Linked DNA regions of Homo sapiens: regions 1, 2, 4 and 5 are each linked to region 3. Evidence: promoter capture Hi-C in 16 types of primary human blood cells and fetal thymus (Javierre and others, 2016). All regions are on one chromosome and are shown on one strand. Each heading gives the region's core, a stretch centred on a gene start or on the middle of the fragment in contact. The rest is flanking DNA. Distances are from core to core; before and after follow the strand shown.

Region 1 (2,700 bases), core at 83-2,582, 1.2 Mb before region 3:
GCAAAAGAAAAGAACAGATACAAATTTTCTACTCCCGACCTCCAAACCAAAATCGCACTTTCAAACGTAAAACGCAATTCCAAGAAGACTGGGATGTAGGGAGTATGCGATGCCTCTGTTCAATAGGTCACTGTCAGGAACTTCAGTTTCTGGTGTTCAGATATTTGTATTTGAAATTAAGAAAATCAACGCAGGAGGGGTTGCTGGAGGATAAAGTGGGGTGACGAGAGACCGAAGGAGGGGGAGGAGGAGAGGGGTAGAAGGAACCAAGAACCATCTGATGGCAGAACTGGGCTGAAGGAAAACAAAACCGTGAACTTCAAAGCTCAGGCCTAATCTCCCTCAGGTTAATTTCTGCTTCCTAAAAAGTTTGATCAGGGTCATAAATCACTCGGTCCACCCTTGCCGGTCCTGCCTGGTTCCCCAAGGTTCTCTCCCCGCAGCCCGCTGCAGGGGCGCAGGGTGAGTCTCCAGCCCAAGACCGTCTGAGGCTTCCCGGGGCAGGAGGGCTCCCGGGGCTGAGTGGGCGCACGGATGCGCGAGAATCCGCGTGCGGGGGAAGCGGGGAGGCGAGGGTCTAGGGAAGGTGCTGGCAGTGTTGCGGGCCAGACTGTGGAGAGATCCCGTGCAGATGCAGTTTCCATTCCGTCCGGCCTCAAAAAAAAAAAAAAAACCTTCAAGTGTGTCTGGCGTGCTGTTTGAAGAAGGTTACAGCGTGTTTAGAGATTTGCAAAGCTCTGCCGAGCAGTAAAGATTAGAAAGGCCTGCCTGAGATTTGTCAAATGACTTCCGGTAGCAGAGCCCCCAGTAAACAGGGAGGGCCCGGCAGCCTCAGATCTTGGCTCGGTCGGGGCCTGTAACTCCAGGCTGCACGGCGCGGAATTGGTACGGCCGCACCAGGCGCGCTGCGAGGAGGATGGGCCTGGCCGGGGACCCGTGGAGGATCCGCCTCCAGTCCCGAGGAGGTCCCCGTTTTGTGGCTGTAGTGATGTGGCGTAAAAGTCAAGTCGTGGACTTTTCTATTGGCCTTTCCGTGCAGGAAGCCCTAGATGTAGACCAAGCACTAATTTGGTGAATTTGTAGACCAACTTGACTGAAAGGCTCGGGGAAATGTCACCTAGATGAGTCTGACCCTCCCTAAATGAAAGCCATCTTGGAGGAGGCCAGGGAGTGAAATGGCTGGGGAAGGCCCGGCAGGTCTTCATCATAAGAGTCCACGTTTCTCAGCAGTAACGATAATATTTTAAAACAAAGCAAAACAACATTGTCAAAAAATCTAGGAGACAGTGATCACTGCGGTCAGGGGCGCTTAGTGGGCCGCAGCTCATAGGAATGCTGGGGTTTCCCAGATTCTTCCCAGACGGGCATCGCTTTCCTCTAGGAATGACAGTTTCCGCCTTGGCTCGCCTCAGAGGTGCGCATCAGAGCCAGCTCAGGAAGCCACTACCTGTCACAAAACCGACCACACCATTCTGGTTTACACGGAGCATATAGCTTGGGGTTACCCAGCTAAAATAAATAACTGAAGGGAAATTGTTGGTCAAGAAAAACAAAAGGAAAAATATATAATAAAAGGGGTATCTATTGTTGGACGTGAGACGGGTCCCTCTACACACGGGAAGACGAGGCAGAGGAGATGTTGTTAATGCCCCTGGGTATTAGATACAAAGAAGCACAAAAAAAGAAAAAGAGAAAGGAAAAGAAAAAGGAAGGAAGGAAGGAAAGAAGGAAGGAAGGGAGGAAGGAAGGGAGGAAGGAAGGTAGGTCAAGCCTTCTAGAATTTGTTACCCTAGATGAATAATTACTTAGACTCACACACGCAGATGTTTTTTCTGTGAGAAAGAGATTAATATGGTCTGTCCGTAATGTGACATACACACACAGGGGTTGTATTTCCATGTTTTAAAACACAAAACAACTAAAGTTGATCAGTGAGGGACATGTTTTTAACGGTTTAAATGTTTTATGATGGACCAGTAAAAGCAGAGTTAAATTTCAAGACATAATTGACTGGAGATTTGATTATTTCCCCCCATTTCTGAGGGGGAAATAATCCCTTTCCCAAAATAAAGTTATACCATTGATAAAAATAGCGCAGAGGACCGTGAGAGTTAAATAAAGCAGAAAAAAAAAAGACTATGTGTTGCATTGAGGCAAAAATAACGAAATTCAAAGGCAAATTAAAATAAAGCAATGAGGATTTATCTGAGGAACCGCCACGGGCAGAGGAGCAACATCTGTCCCAGATGTCAGACTTCCCTGCAACTTGATCCATGCGTTTCCACTTTGGTTTCTGAACCGAAGGAGGAGTGCCGGCAAGGGAGCGCCCGCAGTCCTGCGGTACAGGGCTGGCGCAGCCTCTGAGTGCGTGTGTGAACTCTGCCAGGAAGCTGTGAGAGCCAGCCCAGGATTCAGTGACCCTGTTTCCCAACCCACAAGGACAAGTACATGGTTTTCTCTCTTATCAATTCCAGCCCCGCGCAACCAAGTGAAAGCAAATGCACTGGACCGCTTCGGAATTAAAATGAATTGCTAAAACCACGGACCGCTCTGTCCGGGGCCCAGACCTGTCTCAACTCGTGGTATTTACATTCCTAGAGCCCGTGCGGAGGAACACGTCGAGGCACGGGTGGCCGCAGCACCCGGCCTCCAGGCCTAGAGTGAAAAATTTTTTAAGATCTGGTTCTCTCCCCGCCGCCT
Region 2 (2,700 bases), core at 168-2,667, 1.2 Mb before region 3:
CTTGAGCCCAGGAGTTCAAGTCCAGCCTGGGTAACCTAGCAAGAGGTCATCTCTAAAAAGAAAAAAAAGAATCAAGGCAAGTCTAACATTTTGGTGGGTGGCTTATGCCTTTGCTTTATAGATTCAGAGAAAAAGACGTTTCCTGGTACTTTTCCCTTCATCTGCATTCAATTGTTCTCCTCAACCAGCAACCTTAAAGCAGCACTGCTTTTAAATGGACCATGTCTCCTTGCAGAACATTACATCTTAAAACATACCTTTAAAAGACCATAACATGATTTTAAAACAGAGATATGGAGCGATTAATCCACAATGTAGGACTCTGTTCTGGAGGCTGAGACCGGCTGTTACAAGGTGAAGGCATTTATACAGTCGTCAGTCATCTGCACCAAAACCTGCTTTAGTGGAGGTCTGGGGATTTCTAATGGCCTCTTTAAGAATGCCCTGTTTCCACTCGAATCACTCCTAGACAGAAATATTATTCAGGTACCCATCAAACACCTGGCTATGACATCAATTAGCCAAAGCCCCAGAATGAAGGAGTCAGCAGAGGATACCAGACAGAGTCCCAGGTTAGGAAACAAGAATCTGGGTTCTAGTTTTAATTCTTCCATTAGATAGGCTGTGTGACCTTGGGAAAATCACTTGAACTCTCTGAGACTCAGCTTCCTCATCTGCAAAGGGAGATACCAATGCCTGGCCCAATTGTTCTCATGGGGAGATTATGGGGAATCAGTGAAGTAATAAATGTGAATGTGCTTTGAAAAGTTTTGCACCAACCTTGGTTTGCACCAACCTCAGTGCAAAAGAAATTGTGTTTTTGCTATTCCTTTTGCACCAACCTAATACAACGACAAGATACATAGTTCAGGGCCTCTGATAGATGAATCTGAGCTTTGGAAATGTAACCATGAGTGGAGATGAAGCACAATTACAGGGCAGGGAGAACCAACCTTCACTTAAATCATCCACCTCCCTGAAGGGTGAGAAAGGGGTCATATAAAGGCAGAAAAGAAACAGCAGAAGAAACACTAATCCAGAGAGAACGTATCAAAGGGCTAGAGGAAGTTGAAAAGGCTACATTGTCTCATTCTGGCATTTTCTTCTGTAACAAAGATGTAAAACCTCAAACTGGGTCATTTAAAACAAAATGCCAGAACAATTGCAAGGCCCCACAAAGGCAGAAACACGCACAAGATACATCTATTAATGTGTACTTACGCTGGATATTGTAGTATTGGAATGCATGTCAAGATATTGCTTTCCTGCTATTTCTGTATAGAATACATAGGAGATATCACAACAATTAGATCACTCGCATCTGAAGTGACCAATTAGATCACTCCAATCTAATTTATTTTCCCAGAACATTTTTTACACTGACGGTCCTTGTATTAGTCAGCTACTGCCACAATAATACTGTGTAACAAACAGCCACCAAACCTCAGTGTCTACATGTCAGTCAATACTGATTTTTTGTTATTGAGTCTAAGGCCGGTTCTGATGGTGTCAATTGGGTTCACTTGTGCACTTGTCATCAACCAGGGATTGGGAAGATGTATCTGCTGATTTTGGCCAGGCTCACTCATATGTTTGGGGGTTAGGCTTGGCTGACTAATACAGAACTATGTCTCTGGGAGCTCTTCTATGTGTACAGTTGACAGATAAAATGCAGGATACCCAGTTAAATTGGAATTACAGATAAACAATAGATACTTTTTTAGTGTAAGTATATCCCAAATGTTTGCTGAATCTGGCAAGCCTACCTGTGAGTCTCCCCATCCCTCTAGCAGGCTAGCACAGGCACAGCTCCGTGGCCGGCAGGGGAAGCACAGTGGAACTTGCTTGGTTCTCTGGAGTCTAGACTCGGCTGGTACTTCATTGCCTTCTGTTGGCCAAAGCAAGTTTGTGACTTTGCCCAGCCCAGATTCAAGGACTACAAAGTCACATTGAGAAGGACACACAGGGAAGTTGAAGAATTGGGGCCTTTTTGACAGTCTGCCACAGTTCCTAGTAGCAAAATCACCAACAAAAGAGCTCAGCACAGAATTCTCCAAGAAAATGTCACTTGCCCATTCTATTTTAATATCAAAGATGAGGGACTTCATGAAGTGTTCAGGGCACTTAACTACAGGGGAGAAGACTCAGTTTCTGGTTTGACTTTATCAATCATGTTCTTTGTTTTCTTGGGTGGACTACATCTTCTCTGGGGCTCAGTATTTTCATCTATGAAATGGTAAGTTTGCGCTCTTGGGGCTTTGCAGCTCTAAGATTCAATAATCTTGAATATTTTAACTTGCCTTCTTCCATCATTTCCCTATTGCAAACTCTTCTAGCCCAATTGACTTTATGACTGTATTAGCTATGCTATAACTTAAAACAGCCCATTATGGTCCTCACTGACTGCTCCTATATTCAAAGTAAATTCAATCACCAATACATATCCAACAAAAAAAATGGAAATCTCCAGGCCAAGGGGACATCAGCTCCTGGCAAGGAACAAGACCCTGGAATAAATAAATCTGCTTTGCCCAATATTTCCCCCTCTTGATTTGAAGAGAGACAGTAACCCTTTTTCTGTCATTGAATTAATTTGCTAGAAGTGGCTGTAATTTCTATATAAATCCTGAGATTGTTTCTAATTTACATGTTATATATGAATGTTTATGCATGTGGTGCCAGTCTAATGTTCTCCAGGGA
Region 3 (2,700 bases), core at 61-2,560:
TACTTGTTGAAGTGGAACTCCTTCTCCAGTTCCGTGAGCTGCTTGGTAGTGAAGTTGGTGCGCACCGCGTTGGGTTGACCCAGGTAGCCGTACTCTCCAACTTTCCCTGGGGCAAAGTGGGAAGCCATGAGACGGAAATGTAAAAATTTTTAAATCGACTTGAGATTCCCCACACGCTTCATGGCAACACTCAGGTAAAGAAAAGATCAAGAACTCAGCACAAATCGGGCTGTGGAGGGTGAGTGATGAGGTGTAAAGTGTTAACCTGATGTAAACCATTAGCATGGTCAGACCGGTGATTAATGGAGCCTCAAGATATTAACAGAACACTACCGTCACAATAACCACCCCCACATACTTCCTATTTCCCAAATGTATAAAATCCTTGAAAACACACCAATCCCTGAGACTTCTTTGCCCCAACACCTCTGGGCACCCTCTCCATGCACTACAACACTAGTCTGATACAAAAGCCTTTTAAAAAAAAGATCATTATTAATTTCCTTGGAAATTAAGCATACCAGCTCCTTCCAGAATAATCAAGGAGCATCCACCAACCAGCAGGACTGACCTGTTTTGGGAGGGTTTCTTTTGACTTTCATCCAGTCAAAAGTCTGCGCTGGAGAAGATGTCTCCGATGCGGGGGAGCGACAGGCTTCTTGGTGGCTGGCGTGGAGAGGGGACAAGGAGTTATTATACGTAGCCAGGGCCAGGCTCTGGTGCTCCTGTCCATATGAGTGGTGAATGTATTGAGGCGAGCCCACCGCGCCCCCAGCATAACCCTGGTGGTGGTGGTGATGCTGGACCATGGGAGATGAGAGATTTCCAGAGTAAACAGCGGGAGCGCACTGGGGGTACCCACCACTTACGTCTGCTTCCTGATTTAACGCGTAGGGGCTGTAAGGCGCACTGAAGTTCTGTGAGCCATAGCTTGGACCACAACTTGAGTGGGAGTAGGACACCCCCAGGTTCCCGGAAGTCTGGTAGGTAGCCGGCTGGGGGTGGCGATGGTGGTGGTGGTGGTGGTGGTGGGGCGAACCGATCTGCACCCCCCTGCCCACTAGGAAGCGGTCGTCGCCGCCGCAACTGTTGGCGCTGACCGCGCACGACTGGAAAGTTGTAATCCTATGGTCCGAGGGGTAGGCTCGGGCTGAGCAGGTCCCCGAGTCGCCACTGCTAAGTATGGGGTATTCCAGGAAGGAGTTCATTCTTGCATTGTCCATCTGTCACTGAGTGACCTGGTCCTGCGAAGCCCGGCGTGACTGTGCCAACTTTCTCACTTCCTCCATGGGGCCGGAGAAGAAAAATGATATGAATGTACAGTGCGCAAGAGGGGGGGCGGGAGGGCGGAGGACGCTGGAGGAGGGGCACGTGACGGTGTCAGCCAATGGCTGAGCCTCCTGCAAAAGTTTGCCGGCTTCCGCAGTGATGGATCACCGTTTTAGTGGCATTTAAATCCCCGGCGCTCCGCCGTCTAGGTGACGCGCAGTCGCCCCCCCAGGCAGCCTAGGCGGCGGCAGCTGCTGCGGCGACTGCAAAGGCCGATTTGGAGTGCTGGAGCGAAGAAGAGCAAAAGCTGCGTTCTGCGCGCGCCCGACTCCGCTGCCCGCCCCGCCAGGCCTCCGGGAGGTGGGGGCTGGGAGGCGTCCCCCGCTCCCGCCCCCTCCCCACCGTTCAATGAAAGATGAACTGGCGAGAGGTGAGAAGGGAAGAGGGCTCCCGGCTCTCTCGGGGCGGGAATCAGTGGGCCAGAGCTCGCCGGGTGGCCGCAAGTACGCCGGCCCAGCCCGCAGCGCGCCCAGCCGGAAGGCGGGGAATCCGGCTGACACCGCGCCCCGGGTTCCCAGGCCACCTCCTCTGTTCTGAGGCTGGGCTGGGAGACCGTGGGGCTGTGAGGAGCGCATAGAACCGTGGTGGAGGGCGAGGCTGGGCCACCGGCTCTTCAAGCTCGGAATGGAGGGGGAAGAGCGCAGAGGGCTGGCTGGGAGGAACTCGGGTGGGCGTGAAGGAGACGAGGGCAAGAAAAGAAACTTCCCTTCTTCCAGGAGGGTCTTCGAAACCCTCTCCCCACAGCCCCTCTCGTCATTAGCATGGCAATGAGGAGTTTCTGTAATTCGACTTGGAGGGGCGGATGAGCCCTGGAAACTCAGAGCTCGCCGGAAAAGGCCGGGGGCGGCCGGGCTCTTCTTCCCCACCTTCCCTCTCTCGTCGCTCTCCGCCCCTTTCTCTTTCCCACTCAGTTTTGCACCGGGAGCCCTCCGGGATGCGGAGCTACTCGACCGCCGGATTTTTAGGGGTAGGAGGCGGGGGAGAGAGATGACGCTGGCGGACGTGGCCAGCGCGGGGGCCGGGCGGTGCGCTGCAGGCCATCTGCCGGCGCCCTGAGACCCAGGAGCCTCCGCGCTCCCGCGTGGGCCTCACAGGGCCGGTCCACAGCTCCAACATAGTAGCTGAACTCCCTTCGTTGCGTTCCTCTTTTTCTGGAGGGGAATGTTAGAAGAGAGAGAGAGCTTCCTTTTATAACCTTCCTCATTCTGCTGCACGTCTAGAGTGGGTGTGGGGGCTGGCAGGTGGGAGGGGCGGTGGACAAATGGCTGATGGTGGACGGGACACTTTACCCCAACGACACCTCCTCCCCTTTCCAACTGGCTGTGTAGTTGCTTATGAGAACCTTCAAGTCCTTCCCTAGAGAGACACATG
Region 4 (2,700 bases), core at 15-2,514, 1.2 Mb before region 3:
GCAGTTCTCTTTACTCCTGTCAGCCAGATTTAGTCTTAGAGCATCAATATCCATAAGTGAAAAGTGACACTTCAGCTTAGATTATTTCTCTTTTCACTGCCCTTCAGAAAAATTTTTTTTTTTTTCAGAAGAAAATAGGATTTTAAAATCACTGCTTTCTAGATGTGACCATCTCAGCCTGAGCAAGAAGGATCAAAACTCTCTTGCTGGAACTGCCTTCTCAGTGACTGAATTTTTATGAATCAAATAAAATGGTTGCTTGTGGGTTTGGGGAATGCTTTTTTTCCTTCCAAAGTCCCATATTGATTAGAATGAACTACATCGAAATTTAACAAGTGACAGAAGAAAGTGCCACCACTCTTGGCGTCTAATGAAGCTGTTGGGCAGTGCTGCCATCCAGAGTGGGGGAAATGGGACACAGGAAGTCTGTTTCCTCCTCCCCCAACAATACTCCCAGCCCCATTGGTTTGTACAAACAAACATGTGAGACCACGTGGTAACATAGACAAGTTACATTCCTTACCTCAGGTAATACCCACAAGATAGCCCCATTTACCAGCTGAGCAAACTGAGGCTAAAGGTTACTTCTTTGCCCAAGGTCACACTGCCAATATCCAAACCCAAGTCTGTCCACCTCCAAAGATCATGTGCCTTCTGCTACCCAGTGTAAATAACCCAAAAGAACTCAAAGACTGTTTTCTTTGAAGATAGGTGAGGCAGACACTGCTGTGTGCTTGCCCCGAGCCATCCTATCTGCTTCCTGTGCACACAGCTGGACTACATTTCCCAGCTCCCCTTGGGGGAAGGTTGGCCCTGAGAGTGGCGTCTAGCTAGTGGAATGTGAGTGGCAGTGAGGCCTGCCCACCTCCTGCACAGTCCTTCATTCTCTCTCTCTACCTGTCACAGCCAGATGCAGAGTACTCAGCAGCAAACATTAAGGCCCTTAGGGATGGTGGGGCCACAGAATGAAAGGTGCCTGGGTCCCTGAATCACTGCATGGAAGCTGTCCAAGAAACGCTTTCAGTGGTCCAAGAGCAAGAAATAACTTGTTTTGTGTTAAGCCACTGTGACACGGGGTTGCTTGTTAAACAGTTAGCCTTTGATACATAATACACAAGGAAAGAAAATGGCTTCTGTGAAGGTGTCCATTTGCCCACCAGGGGACTTGCCTAGTTCTGTGGTGGTGAATTTGTTCACAATTTCCCTGGGCGTCAGGAAAAGAAGACATTGAGCTAAGTGATCTCTAAGGTCTTTCCCCGACCTGAGAAAAGCCTGTGGTTCTGTGGTTCCCCTCTCTCACCCGCCGGATCCCGTCTCCCACCACTCATATCTGCAGGGGCCAGCTAAGTTACCTGGACCAGGAGGGACTTAGCCCAAACTCCTACCCACCCAGGAGTCTTCCTTCCCACATAACACCTTCCCTGTACTCTGCTGGGCAGCTATACACAGATATGCCCCCTCGGCAGTGGCAGCAATATGTAAGATGCCCCGGCAGGAGGACGGGGGGCTTCACATGGCCTTGTGCCACCTGTCCCAACTTTCCCTGCCCCCTGTGTAGCCTGTGTGGGAAGATGAGCACCTTCCTCCAAGAAAAAGGCTGGGTATAGACCAAGACCTGGAAAACTGCTGGGTATCCGAAGAGTGAATATGAGGAATTCTGCTCTTTGAAAGCACTGCTTCTTCGACTGATGTCACTAACATCCATGAAATATCATCCTTAAGCTATTTTAAGTCTACCTCCAGTGACTCATGGGATCTCCTTTTCTGTCACTGAACGTGATGTGCTCAAAATGAAGATAATGTTAATATAGGGAAAAGCAGAACTGAGAGTTTTAATGACACAGACTCCTGGCCAGATCAGGAAAGGAGGGTGTAGTTCGCGGCATTTGTGATTCCGGCTGGGTCTCCGGTGCGGAAATGAAACTCGCCCCCTGCTGGCCCGCCCCGGCGCTTTCAGAGGGAAGGGGAGCCAGGACGCCCGCGGGGATGGCTGCCCAGCTGCGAGTCACACACGAGCGTCGCCCACGCCCGGCGCCCCCGCACTGCCCATGATAGGGACCTACTGAATTGGATACTAGTGGTGTTTCTGGAAAAATCAGGGAGGATTGAGACCTGGGTTTTCGAGTGACAAATTGGTGATGCAGATGAAAAATGCAGGACCCAGTTGCATATGGTGGCAGTCTTTGGCTGCCTGGAGAGAAAGAGAGAGAGAGACCGCGCGCTCACTATCAATATGATTAACTATTATAGTGCGCAGTGTTTGGGGCTATCCATTCCTTTTCCTCCTTCTTCTATCACAGATTCCTCCCTCTCTGATTTCAGAAGGAGGAGTTAGGGAGGGTCGGGTAAGTGCCTGACCTAGGCCACTCAGCATCCCCCTTCCTCCACCAGAGTCCTTGGCCAACTAAAAACCATTCCTGGGAATCTTCTGCGGAACCCTGCCCCTCTACCCTCCAGCCTGCCAAGCCTTTTTTCTGTCCCCTGCAAACTAAAGAATCCTGACTACCAAAGCTATTGATGGTTCCCACAATATGTATTGTTTGAATCCACTAGCACCTGACACAACCCAAATTATGAATTACCATAATTACCAAGGGTAAAACCCAAGGTTAATGATGAAACAAATTAGTGCACAGTTAAAAAATATAAAAGTGTTCTATAACTACTACAAAATGAGATAAGGTTAATTAAAGTAATTTT
Region 5 (2,700 bases), core at 35-2,534, 1.3 Mb before region 3:
TCAGGATCTTTCTCAACACTACAATCTGCTGGCTTTTCATCCAAGGCAAAGGACATCTTCTCCACATGTATAAGAGTTTTATAACATTGAGGGTAGGAAGTGACCTCTAGTGCTGGGTCTCAATTCAGCATCCATGTTGGTGACAGACCTAAACTAGGGACCTTTACAATAAAAGAGTAGAGAACATTTTGGTATATGTGCTGCCAAAGCAAGCAAGAGTATAGAACATTTTAGAGTTTTTCACCCAAGTAACTATGCTAATTTTAACAATTACAGCAAACTGGTGCCTTAAAGGTTAATTCCTTCCCAGCTATAAAGAATTCTTTCTCTAAGCAGTCCATAAAACTTAAATTTAACTATGGAATGCCAGAACAAGCATGGTTAACTTTTACTAAATCTACCTGTGGCACTGGGAGTTTTTAATGGTCATACTTAAACCAAATGTCAATCAAAAGCGTTTACACCTCCATTTAAGAATTAGCAGTTTAGATTGTAAGGCTCCAAGGGAAATAAAATTCCACCAGTTTTCCCATGATCCCTAAAGTCACAGGAGGCGGGAACTTTTAGCTAAGAACATGAGTATCTTAGAGAAGTAGAATGAGAATGATGCAGAAAAGTTTTAAAAGTTTTTATAATAAGGGAAGGGTATAGCCCTGTTTCTCTCAAGCCCAGATTTCTAGGCCTCAAAGCCCACACATATTTGTACAGCTTCTCTAGGACTACAGAATCTCCTACAAAACATTTAATTTGGTGGCTTAATATGAAAATCATCCTTCAGCATACATTAATCTAGGGTAGGGATCTGCAAACTCTTTCTGTAAAGGGCCAGATAGTAGATTATTTTCAGCTTTGCAGGCCATACAGTCTGTCCAACAGCAACTCTGCTGTTGTAGAAGGAAAGCAGCCATATACAATATATAAACAAGTGAACATGGCTGTGTTCCAATAAAACTTTATTTACAACAAGCAGGCATGGAGCTGGATTTGGGCCACGGCCACAGTTTGCTGAACCCTGGTCAGTTTGCAGAGCATCAAGCGCAGCTGAGTTGCAAACTGGTTTTCCAGATGCAGCTGCCAACTTCCACCTCACCCATGATATGAAACCTTTCCTTCTGGTGGTTCCTAACATGCCTTTGTTTTAAAATCCGAGGGGATGTTCATGTACTAATGGATACATCACTGCCTCCTCTTATTTACAAAGTATTGTGGGGACTACTGGGATTTAGCTTACTAGCAACCTCTCAGCATAAGCAGAGCCAGGAGGCTCCACTGAAAAGACTCCTAATGTACAATTAAAATGTCATCACTGGAGATGCTTTTTTGCACCCTGCACTTGAGTTTGCTGGAAAAGTTCATATTTGCCTTTTCATTCCTCACCCTGCATTCTGATGGCTTCAGGCCTTTAGCATGGGCCATATTTAAATTGTCAAGAGATGTCAACAAATTGTGAGGGACAGCCTCACACTGGCAGCAATTACTACACGGCAATAATCAATGGGAGTCTTTTGTTAGCACTGCAGACTCACCATTGACTCAGGAAGTAAGTGTCCCAGTGGTTTAAGTGAAAGCTGAAATGGACAAGCAGTTTCACCTTAGCTGCTCAAAAGCCACAGACATACGCTTGCCCCATTAATTATTCCTACCCAAAAGACAGGGGCTGTTACCGTCCACTGTCTGCTGTCTGCTAAGGAGAGGGGGTGGCCAGAGACTCACAGACATTCTATTTACGGTGCCAGGAAATGCATCCTTCTTGCTTTCCGAGAAAGGATGATTGCCTTATTCCACTGTGATTCCTTCTATAAATAGGTAAAGGTCACATGTGGAAATGGAGAGTTTTCAAACTTTGCTCATGCTTTTTGATTTCAGATATTATATTTATCTGGCACAATGACCTGATGAATTACTCTAATGTGGAAGAAATGCCCTTTGTGACCCACAACGCCCATATTGACTTGCTCTTCTGTCTTGCATTTTTAATTTTTACACTTTTCTTGCTTTAAAGTCACATGCCTTGTACAAAAAAAATCTAGAGCTGGAAGTTGAAGTAAAATCCACTCAGATCATTTTCTGACCCTAATTTCCATAAAAAATACATGTACCTACAGTCATTTTTTTCAAGGAAAATGGAGTAAAAATACCATTCCCACTTGATATCACCTTTTCTGGATTTGCCCATATTATTCACCTAGTTAAATGCCACCTCCTCCAAGAAGCCTCATCTCATGTACAAGGTACATACAATCTCTCTTGACTCTGACCTTCCATAGGAATTTCCTGCACCTCTGCAACACCCGCATTTTCAGACATGCCTTCGTGCCTTGATATGCGCATGCCTCAGCCTCACCACTTCATCCCCACCCCTCGAGAGCAGGATCCAGGTCCCGTTCATCTTCAGTCTCCACAGGGTCCGGGACAGTGCCTCAAATGATGTAAGGGCTCAATAAATGCATCATGAATAAACAAAGTAGCTCCTGCTTCTGTCTCTGAGACTCAGGGGACCACCAAAAGCAAAAATATTTGGCATTATAAGTCATGACATTATTGCATGGGTTTGCCCTGTAATGACAATTAGAAGAATGCAAAAGGCCTTGGCTTCCTTGATAAAAAGAAAAATTCAGACAAAAATTCAATGTCAGACTTTTCTATGGAGTTTATGAACAGGAGTAGATCAAAGAAAGCCTTAATGAGCTGAATTCCGGG

What was found. Contacts are between HindIII fragments. The CHiCAGO score rates a contact against its expected background, and 5 or more counts as called.
Region 1: a contact is called between a fragment that was not itself captured here and the fragment with the promoter of HOXA1 in region 3, in 10 of 17 cell types (total B cells, naive B cells, fetal thymus and 7 more). The highest score is 32.1, in total B cells.
Region 2: a contact is called between a fragment that was not itself captured here and the fragment with the promoter of HOXA1 in region 3, in 2 of 17 cell types (naive B cells and total B cells). The highest score is 12.9, in naive B cells.
Region 4: a contact is called between a fragment that was not itself captured here and the fragment with the promoter of HOXA1 in region 3, in 13 of 17 cell types (total B cells, naive B cells, M2 macrophages and 10 more). The highest score is 15.2, in total B cells.
Region 5: a fragment that was not itself captured here is called in contact with the fragment with the promoter of HOXA1 in region 3 in 1 of 17 cell types (total B cells); the score reaches 10.3 in total B cells.

What each region holds. Positions count from the first base shown.
Region 1 is chr7:25,858,180-25,860,879 of GRCh38, forward strand. No RefSeq gene overlaps it. Among named protein-coding and RNA genes, the nearest start is that of LINC03007, 69 kb to the left of the region's middle. The HindIII fragment of the contact is 9,868 bases long and covers 1-2,700 here.
Region 2 is chr7:25,874,847-25,877,546 of GRCh38, forward strand. No RefSeq gene overlaps it. Among named protein-coding and RNA genes, the nearest start is that of MIR148A, 74 kb to the right of the region's middle. The HindIII fragment of the contact is 3,960 bases long and covers 1-2,700 here.
Region 3 is chr7:27,094,690-27,097,389 of GRCh38, forward strand. HOXA1 (homeobox A1) reads right to left here and starts at 1,311. Exons shown (of 2, transcript NM_005522.5): 1 at 572-1,311; 2 at 1-106. The coding sequence starts at 1,223. HOTAIRM1 (HOXA transcript antisense RNA, myeloid-specific 1) reads left to right here and starts at 1,405. Exons shown (of 2, transcript NR_038367.1): 1 at 1,405-1,699. RefSeq lists enhancers at 1-399, 1,281-1,575, 1,701-2,273 and a silencer at 1,628-1,797. The HindIII fragment of the contact is 6,567 bases long and covers 1-2,700 here.
Region 4 is chr7:25,893,602-25,896,301 of GRCh38, forward strand. No RefSeq gene overlaps it. Among named protein-coding and RNA genes, the nearest start is that of MIR148A, 55 kb to the right of the region's middle. RefSeq lists an enhancer at 1,659-1,748. The HindIII fragment of the contact is 3,429 bases long and covers 1-2,700 here.
Region 5 is chr7:25,840,796-25,843,495 of GRCh38, forward strand. No RefSeq gene overlaps it. Among named protein-coding and RNA genes, the nearest start is that of LINC03007, 52 kb to the left of the region's middle. The HindIII fragment of the contact is 6,074 bases long and covers 1-2,700 here.